2 separate regions of the Homo sapiens genome follow, and region 2 is linked to region 1. The links are contacts of gene promoters, found by promoter capture Hi-C in blood cells and fetal thymus (Javierre and others, 2016). All regions are on one chromosome and are shown on one strand. Each heading gives the region's core, a stretch centred on a gene start or on the middle of the fragment in contact. The rest is flanking DNA. Distances are from core to core; before and after follow the strand shown. Region 1 holds the start of NME6 (NME/NM23 nucleoside diphosphate kinase 6). Region 2 overlaps PLXNB1 (plexin B1).

Region 1 (5,586 bases), core at 1,534-4,033:
TGGAGCCACGCAGCCTTGCAAGCCAACGAGTGCTCTCACTCCTGACACTCATAAAGAACCTGACAGTTTCATCTTAAGGCCATATACATTATTTTAATTGCCCATTTGGGCTCATGGGATCAAGGGAGGGGAGTTGTAGAGGGAGCATTCAAGTTCCCCCGTGGAGTATACAATCTAGTGCAACTGTAAGCCTATGAGGGAATTACCCATTAAAAGAAACTCAAGTTTAAATACTACCTGTCTCTGCCAATATCCCTTCCTAACTTCCTTTTGTATTTTACAGAGGATTTACAATTTATACTCCTAAACAGCCTATCCACAAGGCCTATTCATAATGATGAATTCATCTCTTAAAATCTTCCATCCCATAGTGCTCTCCTATCAAATCTAGAATTGGAAGATTGATGGACAGCAACTGAGGTGCTACCAGGATACCAAAAAGTCTGCTGGATAAACACCATCTCTATTCTAATATTATGGAGAGATCAGGATCTCCTGTGCCCAAATCAAACCTGTTAATACACTCAGCTGTCCTCAGTGGTAACACTGAGGTCAACACACAACTCCAACATCAGGAACAAGTCATAACCATTTTGCATCTGAAACAGTGCCTGACACAAAGGTGCTTGATCAATTTTATTTACTAAATAAACCTATATAGTCTTATTTCTATTCATCTTTGTATTCCTAATGTCTAGCATGGTGTAAGAGCTCAATATTGTAGAAATGATATAATGGACATAAAAGCATTTTATAAACTGGACTAAGGGAATTTTGAGGTCTTTTCCAATTGTGAAATCCGAGTTATACGTGAGAAATTTATCACCTCTGCAGGAGTAAAGACTTTGTCTCAAAATCTTATCTCAATATTATCTCTCATTTGGCCATGTGTAGTGGCTCACACCTGTAATATCAGTACTTGAGGCCAGGAGTTTGACCTGGGCAACAAAGCAAGACCCTGACTCTACTACATATGTGTGTATGTGTGTGTGTGTATATATATATAATATATATGTGTGTATATATATAAAATCATTTGTCGACAAATACAGAGAAGGCTTCCATTAACATAGGCAGGGACAGAGTCTAGACAACATTCTCATTTATCTTATCCTAAAAACTGTCAATCATGTTAAAGGTGGTATTAGAATCTGGCCCAAGCAAAGAAACTGCCATGGTCGCTCCTATTCATGTCCTTTCTACAGCTTTCAACCTGATTTTCCACTCAAACCATAAAGCCACACCCAATCTAACCAGTACAAGATCAGCTAACCCACTCTCCCTAATGCCACAGGTGGTAACACGTCATTTTCAGCAACTGTCTACAGAGACATCCATGACACCTCCCCTCCCTCACTCTTCATATCCACACGATCACCAACTTCTGGCAATTTTCCCTACCTAATATATCTCAAAACCCATACCATTCTCCCATCCTCAACTGCTACCACCATAACTCTAAGACATCATCATTCCCCTCTGGACATCTTGACAGCCTCCTCTTTGGTCTCCCAGTTTCTGTCCTGCCAACCTCTACAATCTCCACACAGCAGCCAAAGTGAACCACACATGAAAATCTAATCATATGGTTCCCCTCCTTAACCCTTTAAAGGGCACCCTGTTCTTAGAATAAAAACCAAAATCCTTATCACGGCCTCCCAGGCTCTGCATGATCTTGTGGTTCCCCACGTACCTCTCTAGCCTCATCTGGAACCCCACACTCCTTAAGTTTCTCTAGCTCCAACCTCATGGGCCTTTCAGTTTTGAAAGAATTTCTGGCTTGACAGCCTTTGTGTGAGTAGTTTTCGCAGTCCTGAATGTGCTTTCTCTGGTTGCCTCCTGCCCACCTTAGTGATCTTAGCTCACTTCCCGTTACACTTTCTCACAGCTCCTTGCAAGTTCCCTTCAGTTCCGTCTTCACCACCAGAAGGTGTAAGCAGTACCTAGCACACAGCTGGCTCTTAACAGTATCTGAATGAACCAACGAATGCACCTCATCCAGCCATTCCAAGGCCAGGCTGCTAGGGGTTCTCGTGGCAAGAACACGCGGCCTGTAGGGAGGACATGGTTCCTTTACTAACGCAGCTAAGTTGTGGCTGTCTTGACTCTTGGTTTACAACAAACTGACAAGTCGAGAATCCTGTTAGACTTAAAGGTGACTCCATGAGAATTAAAAATTTTAGGCAGGGCGCGGTGTCTCACGCCTGTAATCCCAGCACTTTGAAAGACCGAGGCGGGCGGATCACGAAGTCAGGAGATCAAGACCATCCTGGCCAACATGGTGAAAGCCCGTCTCTACTAAAAATACAAAAAAATTAGCCAGGCATAACGGCGCGCGCCTACAGTCACAGCTACTAGGGAGGCTGAGGCAGGAGCATTACTTGAACTCTGGAGGCGGAGGCTGCAGTGAGCCGAGATCGCGCCACTGCACTCCAGCCTGGCGACAGAACCAGACTCCGTCTCCAAAACAAAAAAAAAGTAAAGCTGTCGGTACACTGCCACCCCAGCACTCGAGGGGGCCACCACTCGCTTCCTGGAGGGCGGCGGCCCAGCCCTGGTCCACCCACGCGCGGCCGGGACCTGCGCCCCTACCCCCGTGGCCACGCCCTCCAGCCCCCCGGGCTCACGGCCTCAACTCTCGACCCAGCCCCCTACTTCTCTAGGCCTGCAACCGCGCAGCCCTCACCCCTCGTACCCGGGGCCTAAGCCCACCCCAGATTCTGGGTCATTCGGAGCCCCAGTGCAGCAGAAGTCCGGCTGCGGGTTCACCTTGTCCTCCGGCACAGGGCCCGGCCACCAGGCGCCACGCTGGATAGCCTGCGGCCCTCGCAGGGTCCTTCAGGCGCTCCCTGGGCAGCCCTGCTCGGGGTCCTAGTCCGGTTGCGCCGCGGCGTGAGGTGAGGTGTGAGTTGCCCTGGAGGGTGGCGGGTTTTCCAGGCGCATGCATTTGCCGCGGACGGGACGAGAGGATGAAGCCGTTCTGGGCGCCGGAACTCGCTTGTGGGAACCGCCCCTCGGAAGCCGGCCTGGGCGCCCTCGGAAGCCGGCCTGGGCGCCCTCGGCGGGAGGGAGTGCTGGGCCGGGTGCTGGCGCAGCGCTACGCAGGGTGGCGGAACCCAGAGGACCGGACGGGCTCGTTCAGGGTGGCGGCCCGGCGGGGGCGATGCCCGCCAGCAGAGACACCGATGGAAACCTTGCCCAGTTATTTTCTTTGCCCAGGGTAGTTCCTGGAACATGGTTGATGCCCAGTATTTGTCAAAAGTACGCGGAGGGCAAAGAACTTAAGCGCTCGATAGCGAAGGCACAGGCCCTTCAAAGTCTTTTGAGCTCTGAGCGATACATTAGCATGAAGGATCGTAGCTAATATGGGGGTTGATGAAGGAGGATCCTTGGCTGGAGCCCAGGTGTGCATAGGGCATGAGGAAAGCAAGTCATAACGGCCTTTCACGTGTCATTAGGAATCTGGGCAGCAGGGTGTGGTTTGGGTTACTCTGGAGTCTATTGACGCAGCCCAGGGTGAGGAGATGAGAACTGGGGGTATTCCTGGTGTGTACTGTGATGTATGGAGAGGATGGGGACAGGGAGAATGGATCGGGGGTCAGCTGTGGCAGGTGACCAGAAACTTGGTGACAGGTTGAATAAAGATGGTTAAAAAAAAAAAAAGTGTTTTGGTTTCTTGGGTTTTTTTTTTTTTTTTTGAGGGAAATCACTGAGAATGAGAAGAATGAAAATAAACGATAACTGTCATCAATGTAAAGACTTACTTGCACATTTAACTGACTTCGGTGTCTGCCTACACAGGTGTTGCCCTCTTGGAAGGTTTATCCCCAACTCATGGCTTCTGTCCCTGCAGCAATAAGAAGCCACTTCCCAATAGTTTCCTGATACCCAGTCACCTTTGGGAACTTACGAGGAAAGTTTTTCCAGTCTCTCCGCAGACCCTTGCATCTCTTCTCTTTTTGTTTAGACCCTTGACCACCACCCCCTATTCTAATCTTAACTCCTCTGCTACTCAGTTCCAATCCTAACCCAAGCCCTAGTCCCTAAATTTATAATCCTTTAATCCTAGACCTGGTCTCTAGATCCTGAGCCCTTGATGCTTATCTTCTAACCTCCTAATCCCAACCTCAAATCCCTAAACCTCAACCCATGAATTCTGACCTGATTCTCAAACCCCAGGCCCCCAACCCTGACTCCAAAAATGACAACCCATTACTTCTCCCTACACGGAATCACTGACGGAGTTGTAGCAACTGAATCTGCAGTAGGCCAAAGGACCCAGTGAGTTAGCCAGCAAACTACTCTAAATAAAAGATATGGTGGATAACAGCAAGCCTAAACAAATCTTCCTCAAAGATGAGCAACACAAGTCCCAGTCATTATGACAATACCTCTGTATCTCAACAAAGGGGCTTAAATCAGCAAGTCATCCCAGCCCCTGAAGGAAGAGAACAGTCCTTGTAAGTTGCAAAGCTCTCAGAGGACATGGGTGGCTCAGTAAAGCCCCTGTTCTAGGACACAGCAAAAGAAGCAACACAATAACCACCATGGCCCAGCAGATGAGGGCCACAGCCAGCATCGCCACCCCTGAGTCTGCCTTCCCAGTATGATCATCAGGACTTCAGAAGTCCCAGCAAACCAGTTAAACAGAAGACAAGAACCTTATGTGAAACCAAATTCCAGACAACTGATACAGATGGCATTCCAGAATCTGCAGCATTCCAGCATGCAACAAACTGCAATAAGTGACACAGATCTCTCCCCGACAGACACCTTATGAGAAGCAAGGGGAAAAAAATGCTCCAATAAAATGGAATCCCAGAATCTCTTCACCATCCCACCCTCAAACCCCTCCCCATTGCCAGGATGCTATGGCATAAGAGGCAAAGGACAATTCACAGTAGTAATAAAAAACATTTACTAAACACTTAGAAACAGTACTGACCAGGTGCCTCATTCAATGCTACGCTTATGTGAATTCTGTATGTATACTGTACTTAGATACAATTTTTTAAAAATTGATACTGCTAAAGCCTTGCTTAGATGGAAATTTGTAGCCTAAAATACATATATTAGAAAAGAAGAAAGACTGGAAATTCAGTAAGCCTCCATCTCAACAAGTTAGAAAAAGAGGAACAGAGCCTCAGAAACCTGTGACACATCATCAAGCGTATAATTTGTTATTATTATTTATTATTATTATTTTGAGACAGAGTCTCGCTCTGTTGCCCAGGCTGGAGTGCAATGGCGTGATCTTGGCTCACTGCAACCTCTGCCTCCCGGGTTCAAGCGATTCTCCTGCTTCAGCCTCCTAAGTAGCTGGGATTACAGGCACCTGCCACCACGCCTGGCTGATTTTTGTATTTTCAGTAGAGATGGGGTTTCACCATGCTGGCCAGGCTGGTCTTGAACTCCTGACCTCAGGCGATGGATCGCCCGCCTCGGCCTCCCAAAGTGCTGGAATTACAGGCATGAGCCACTGCGCCTGGCTGTTATTATTTATTATTAACTATTGCTTTATGCAATTGTCTTTTAAATCATATAGGAGAATAAAAGATTTACAAACAAAACCATATATTTATACTG
Region 2 (5,586 bases), core at 1,912-4,411, 120 kb after region 1:
ATTTACAGAGAATGTTTCCTGACTCCTGGCCCGGTCTGTCCCTTCCCAGTCCAGCCAGATCCCACGACCTGCCCCAGCCCAGCCACATCTGGCTGCACCCACCTGTACATGAGGACAATGATGATGACACCCAGAGCCAGAAGAGAGGTGCCCACCCCCAAGCCCACCTGGGCTGCCACAGGAAAAGCCCCAGGGCTCTCGCCGTCATACTGCACGTGACCCAGGGAGAAGCGCAAGTTCCCCATCTGCACCTGTGTCAGGAGCCACCTGTGAGCAAGGGTTTGGCCCAGGTCAATGCCCAGCCCGGCCAGGGACCTGCCCACTGACCGTGAACTCAGGCAAAGAGTCAGGTGCCTCTCGGAGGGCATGGTGCCGTGGCAGGGGCTGCTCCACGGGGGGCTCGCAGTACAGGTGGTGCCGCGTCAGCGTCTTCACCACACAGGGGCCATCCCCTATCATAGCCACCACCTCCTCCTTGGACATTGCAAGGTCCAGGTTCTCCCCCTGGAACAGAGGGTCACCGATCAGTCACTCAGGACCCTTCCCTCAGATCCTGTCCTCCCCAAATGTGGGAAGGACCCTGAGACCCAGCCGCAGCAGCAAAGCTGACAGCCTCTCAGCACCCTTCCCGAGTGCAGGCCAGTCACACGGTGTCCTCCAAGCTGCTCCTCATCACCCTTTGTTGCCCTTTCCTATCTTTCTTCTCCAGAACGAAAAATCTGGAGAACATAAAGCTGCCTCCCAAATCCTGCCCAGCTACCTAACAAAGCTGGAGCCCCCAATCTGTGTCTGATGACTCACCAGGGGGGTGATGATGCTGTATCAACCTGTGGTCTGCCCGCATGCCCATCTGCTGCCCACTGTGTATGTCCAAGACACATGCCTAGCGCATGTCCATGTGAGCCAGGCTGCCAACGGGGGTCAGCCCGATGGCCTATGTGGACCACACCACCCAGCTACTGCACAGGCCGAACATACAAATGCAGTCATTCCAGAGCCTGCCATGGAGTGCATCAGGACCCGGGCCACCAGCCAAGCAGTCCAGCTCGTGCCAGATGCTAGGCTAGGCACCCCCCACCAGCCCCCTCTGCCCCCACCACAGCAAGGATGAGGAGCCATGTCCATCCACCGGCCCTTGCTCTACTGTCTCGGCCTCTCCGCCACACACAGCAGTGCTGTCCAGCCAAGGGAAGGGTCTCGGGGCCCTGCCAGGTCCAAGTAGGAGCTGTACCTCCACGGAGAACACACTCCCAGGCTTGTGCCGGAATGGCATGGTGGGGTCCTCAGGGTTGAGTGGCTGCAGGGTGGGGTCGGCCTCATAGGAGAAAGGTGTGGGGTTCAGTGTTGCAAAGTCAAAGACCAGGTTGTCAAGGATAAATTCCACCCGGACCCAGGGGTCCTCAGGCAGGCCTGGGAGGGCAGGTGTGCGGCACGTGATGAGCTGGGAGGAGTTGACATGGCACGGCTCCTCAAACTGGAAGGAAGACAGGCAGGTTGACGAGGGGCCAAGCAAAGATGGGAAGAGCCTCCTCTGGCACCTGCTCTGGCTGTCCCCAGGGTGTGGTATGGGGCAAGGGGAGAGTGTGGGGGTACCCAAGGGTGTCCTACTTGCTGGCTACTGCAGGAGGGTCCAAGGGAACATGCCGTCTCCGGGACCACGCGACGCCTCCGTCCAAGCCCCTGGCTGGGCTGCAGCATTCTCGAGACCACGGTCACCCGGATTCTTGGCGTCTGTACCACGTCCAGATTCTGGCCACGGACGCATATCTCACGTCCTCCACTGAAACAGACCGTGAGCTTACGTAACGTAAGATGGCTTATGTTACCTGGACCTAAAGCACAGCCCAGTCCCGGCTAGGTCAGCTCAGCCCCAGCCCCAAACCACACGACCCCTTGCCCCTACTAGCAGCATGGGATTCTCAGTGCCTCAACATAAAGCCCTACAAACCCCCACATAGTGGAGCTGCAAAGACCTCCCTGCCACCTGCCATGCAGCCACACCCCTGGCCCAACACCTGAGGAAGCTCTTGGTGGGGCCAGCAGAGGTGATGTTGGGGTCCAAGGTATACTTGAACTGTCCGCGTTGAAGCCTCCGCTCCGTGGCCCCAAACCACACAGCCACAGGGAGCGTGGCAGGCGTGGGGCGTGGGCTGGTCTCACACCGCAGTTGTTCTGACTGCTGCTCCGGCAGCCTGGGAGGGGAGGTGGGAATGAATGCAGGGGCGCAGGCAGGGAAAACTTGGACCACTCAGGCCCCAACTGGCTTCCCTCAAGCGCTGACTGCAGTCTCCACCAGGTGTCCCTGGAGGTGCACTCCCACCACAGCTGGCTAGGGAGGGTCTGGCCACTCTCTGAAGGAGCAGACTGGCCCTCTTCCCCTTTCTGCTCTCCCCAGGATCTCAGACCCCTCCATCTTTCCCCTGGAGCAGATGGATTTTTGCAGGATGAGGAAGTGGCCCTCACAAGTGACAAGGCTGGTCTCCAACCACCACTCGGATGTCCTCCAGCCGCCCAGTCAGGAGCTTGGAGCCATTCAGGGTGAGACGGGTGCCCCCAGCTCTGGGGCCGCGGGCCGGGAAGATGGAATGGACCTTCGGATCCTGTGGGACAGACAGGGAGAGAGATGAGCATCAGACCAGACACATGGAGGCAGGGACAGCCTGAGAGACAGGCTGGCCCAGGACTGGGAGCCCCACCAAGGAATAACCAGATGGGTTGAGAGGAGCCACCAGAGAGGTTGGCCCGCTGGCAGCTGGGGGTGGCTCAGCAGTCAGGTACCTGGTAGGCAAAGTCGTGTTCTGAGACACCACGTCCTCTTCCCGGCACCTCCACCGCTGTGGCGCCGGCCACCTCCTCCCCACTGGCCCCGGTGATGCACACGAGGCTGTAGGCACAGGGCAGGCTAGGGGGTGCCAGGCTGCATCAAGGGCCCCTCAAGCTTACCTGGCAGCCCCTCTCCCTGCCCTACTGTCAGGTGGTCTTCCCCTTCCCATGCTCCATAAGATTGACAGAGACCCTCTCTCACTTTGGAGGGAATTCTTTATGACACATCAGAAGGCCTTGGTATCTGAGAATTAATATTTGTGGCTTCAATCATTTAAGTTCAACCCCAGGGGCCCCCAATAAGGAAGAATTTATCTGTGGCATAAATTTACAAAGGGGCCCTGTCAGCCTGGTTGTGGGGCGAGCTGCTGAGCAAGTGAGTGGGCACAGCTAGCCGCCCATGTCCTCCGCCACGTCACATGCACAGTACCCACTCAAAGCATGGTAGAAACTTGATTTATTCAGGAAAAAGAGTCCCTGAAAGCCTCTAGTCAGACAGGGAAATACAGGTGAAGGGAAAGTGAACCATCTAAGAAAATGCTGGTTCTTAGCCAGAAAATAGAAGCTTGGGCAAATTAAACTTCCAGAGTGTTAAGCCTGCAGTGGCTCAACTCAGTGACATTGTCACAGTTGTTGCAAACACTAGGAAGACACAAGTGACGTGTGAGCCACCCAGGGGAGGCTCCAGACAGAATATATGCTAATTGCTTCATAAATCACAGCAGTCTTATGGTCTGGAACACTAACAGTCTAGATAGTCACCGTAAGTTCTCGGTCATAACACATTCAGGGGACACTCCGTGCTCCAGGAGAGTGGTTCCTTGTTTCAAATACAGATTTGGGGGCCCCACCGTGGGCCTCCTGAATCCAGATGTTTGTGTTGGTTTGGGACAGGATCTGCAGGTTACCCTGATATTCAGCCACGTTTGGGCCCTGCTGCTTATGGACATCTCCTTAGGAATGTCCTGCGTGTGTACCTTTGGGGCCTGCAACCGCTGGCCAGGTTACCATAACCCAGGAGCCCCAGGAAGGCAGCAGGGGTCCCTAGAGACGACAGTGGAGCCTGGCCCTCGGCCAGTGTGCCTTTCTGAGGTGTGCCTTCCAAGTCTACCTTCCTGAAGAGCCTGGCAGCCCAGGACAATGCCTGGGGAAGAGTGAGCTGGTGAGAAGGCCAGCCCCTGAGCTTATCTGTCTGATCTGAGGGTCCTGCTGCCACAGCTATTAATATATCCACAGTCCCTCAGAAGACCAGGTGAGCAGAGCAGGAAGCAGAGCCACGAGTCAGTTCTGGGCAGTGACGGGCCCAGGAAGGATTCCCCAGCAGCCCAGGCCAGGAACCTACAGGTGTGGTGGGTGCTCAGGGTCTTCAGTGGCAACGCTGGCACTCGGGCATTGTGGCCAGGATCAAGGAACAGGGAGAGAGGGGGGCAGATGAGCGGTGGGTGGGAGGCCCCAAGCAGCAACGCCAACCGCGGAGGCCCCAGGCTGCGCCGTGCTCCTGCTGGGTGCAGCCAGCTTACCTGCTGGAGACCTCGTACTCCTGGGCATCCACAGCACAGGGCACTCCAGCCACCGTGACCATGCCCAGCACATCCTGCACATGCTGGCCCAGGTTGGAGCCCCTGATGGTGACACGGGTGCCTCCGTCTACAGGCCCAGTCAGTGGCTCCACCTGTTCCAGGACAAGGACTGCTCACCTCTACTCAACTGGAAAGGCAGCCCCAACCTCCCACCTTTGGGCCCCCACACCCTCCCTCTAAGGGCAGCACTGAGGAAGGGATGGCCAGCCTTTCAACAAACCGAGTGGATGAGGGGCGCTGGGCACTGGGTGGCCACAGCCTCAGCCTCACCACAGGCCTCCCGGGTCACACAACGTGGACGCTCCCCCTCACACCACACACAGCCATACTGGGGCATGGCAGTTTGGCAGCGGCTGCAGTCTCCATGTCCCACGGAACAGTCATACAGTACCACTGGGGGTGGCAGAGACACACGTGAGAGGCAGGCCTGGGAGAGCCCTGCTACCACCGCCAGCCCAGCAGCCCGCAGGTGGCTCACCATGCAGCCCCTCAGCACTGTCCACACGCAGACGGCCGGCCCGACGCAGAAACAGCCCCACACGGAGCTCCGGCTGCAGAGCCTCATAGCTGAGCTGGAGAAATGGGAGTGGGTTCAGAGTCAAGCACTGGGGGAAGTGTCAGGCCTGGGGAGGGGTTAGTCAGAGAAAGGACTAAAACGACCAGTTAGGAGCATAGGGTCAGAGGGACCCCATGGGGCCACAAGTTGGAGGGCAGAGCCAGAAATGGAGTATGGGGACCCCATGGGGTCTCAAGTTAGAGTTCAGAGCTGGGATGCAAGGACTCCACGGGGCACATGGTCAGAGGTCAGAAATGGGTGTGGAGACTCCCTCAGGGCGACACGGTCAGAGCGTGGCTCTGGAAAGTGTGGTGCAGCCAGCTACAGTTGGCAGCCAGCCTGTGGCCAGTGCAGTGCACCCGTGCCCACCCAGGCGCTCATGGTGTGCACCTGGTGCTGCTGGCAGGTGACATGGCACTGGGTATCTGGAGGTGGCTCACACTCGACCCGGGCCTCAACCACCACCTCGAGGCCCTCCAGCTCCATCACACACTCATTGTCTCCTGGGCCATCCTGAGGGCAGAGAACACAGCTGTTGGGCAGCTTCAGGAGCTGGGCCCAGGGAGTCCTGCAGGTCACCCAACAGATCCCCCAGCACAGCTTCTGGGTTGGAGTTGAGCCCTCGGA

What was found. Contacts are between HindIII fragments. The CHiCAGO score rates a contact against its expected background, and 5 or more counts as called.
Region 2: a contact is called between a fragment that was not itself captured here and the fragment with the promoter of NME6 in region 1, in 4 of 17 cell types (megakaryocytes, endothelial precursors, M1 macrophages and 1 more). The highest score is 6.5, in megakaryocytes.

The regions. Positions count from the first base shown.
Region 1 is chr3:48,298,584-48,304,169 of GRCh38, forward strand. NME6 (NME/NM23 nucleoside diphosphate kinase 6) reads right to left here and starts at 2,784. Exons shown (of 6, transcript NM_001308426.2): 1 at 2,770-2,784. RefSeq lists silencers at 2,487-2,686, 2,987-3,206 and an enhancer at 2,767-2,896. The HindIII fragment of the contact is 12,296 bases long and covers 1-5,586 here.
Region 2 is chr3:48,413,568-48,419,153 of GRCh38, forward strand. PLXNB1 (plexin B1) reads right to left here. Exons shown (of 38, transcript NM_001130082.3): 13 at 5,350-5,472; 14 at 4,882-4,975; 15 at 4,624-4,796; 16 at 4,344-4,495; 17 at 2,779-2,884; 18 at 2,464-2,600; 19 at 2,016-2,192; 20 at 1,609-1,780; 21 at 1,232-1,474; 22 at 328-504; 23 at 103-251. Among named protein-coding and RNA genes, the nearest start is that of PLXNB1, 14 kb to the right of the region's middle. The HindIII fragment of the contact is 450 bases long and covers 2,937-3,386 here.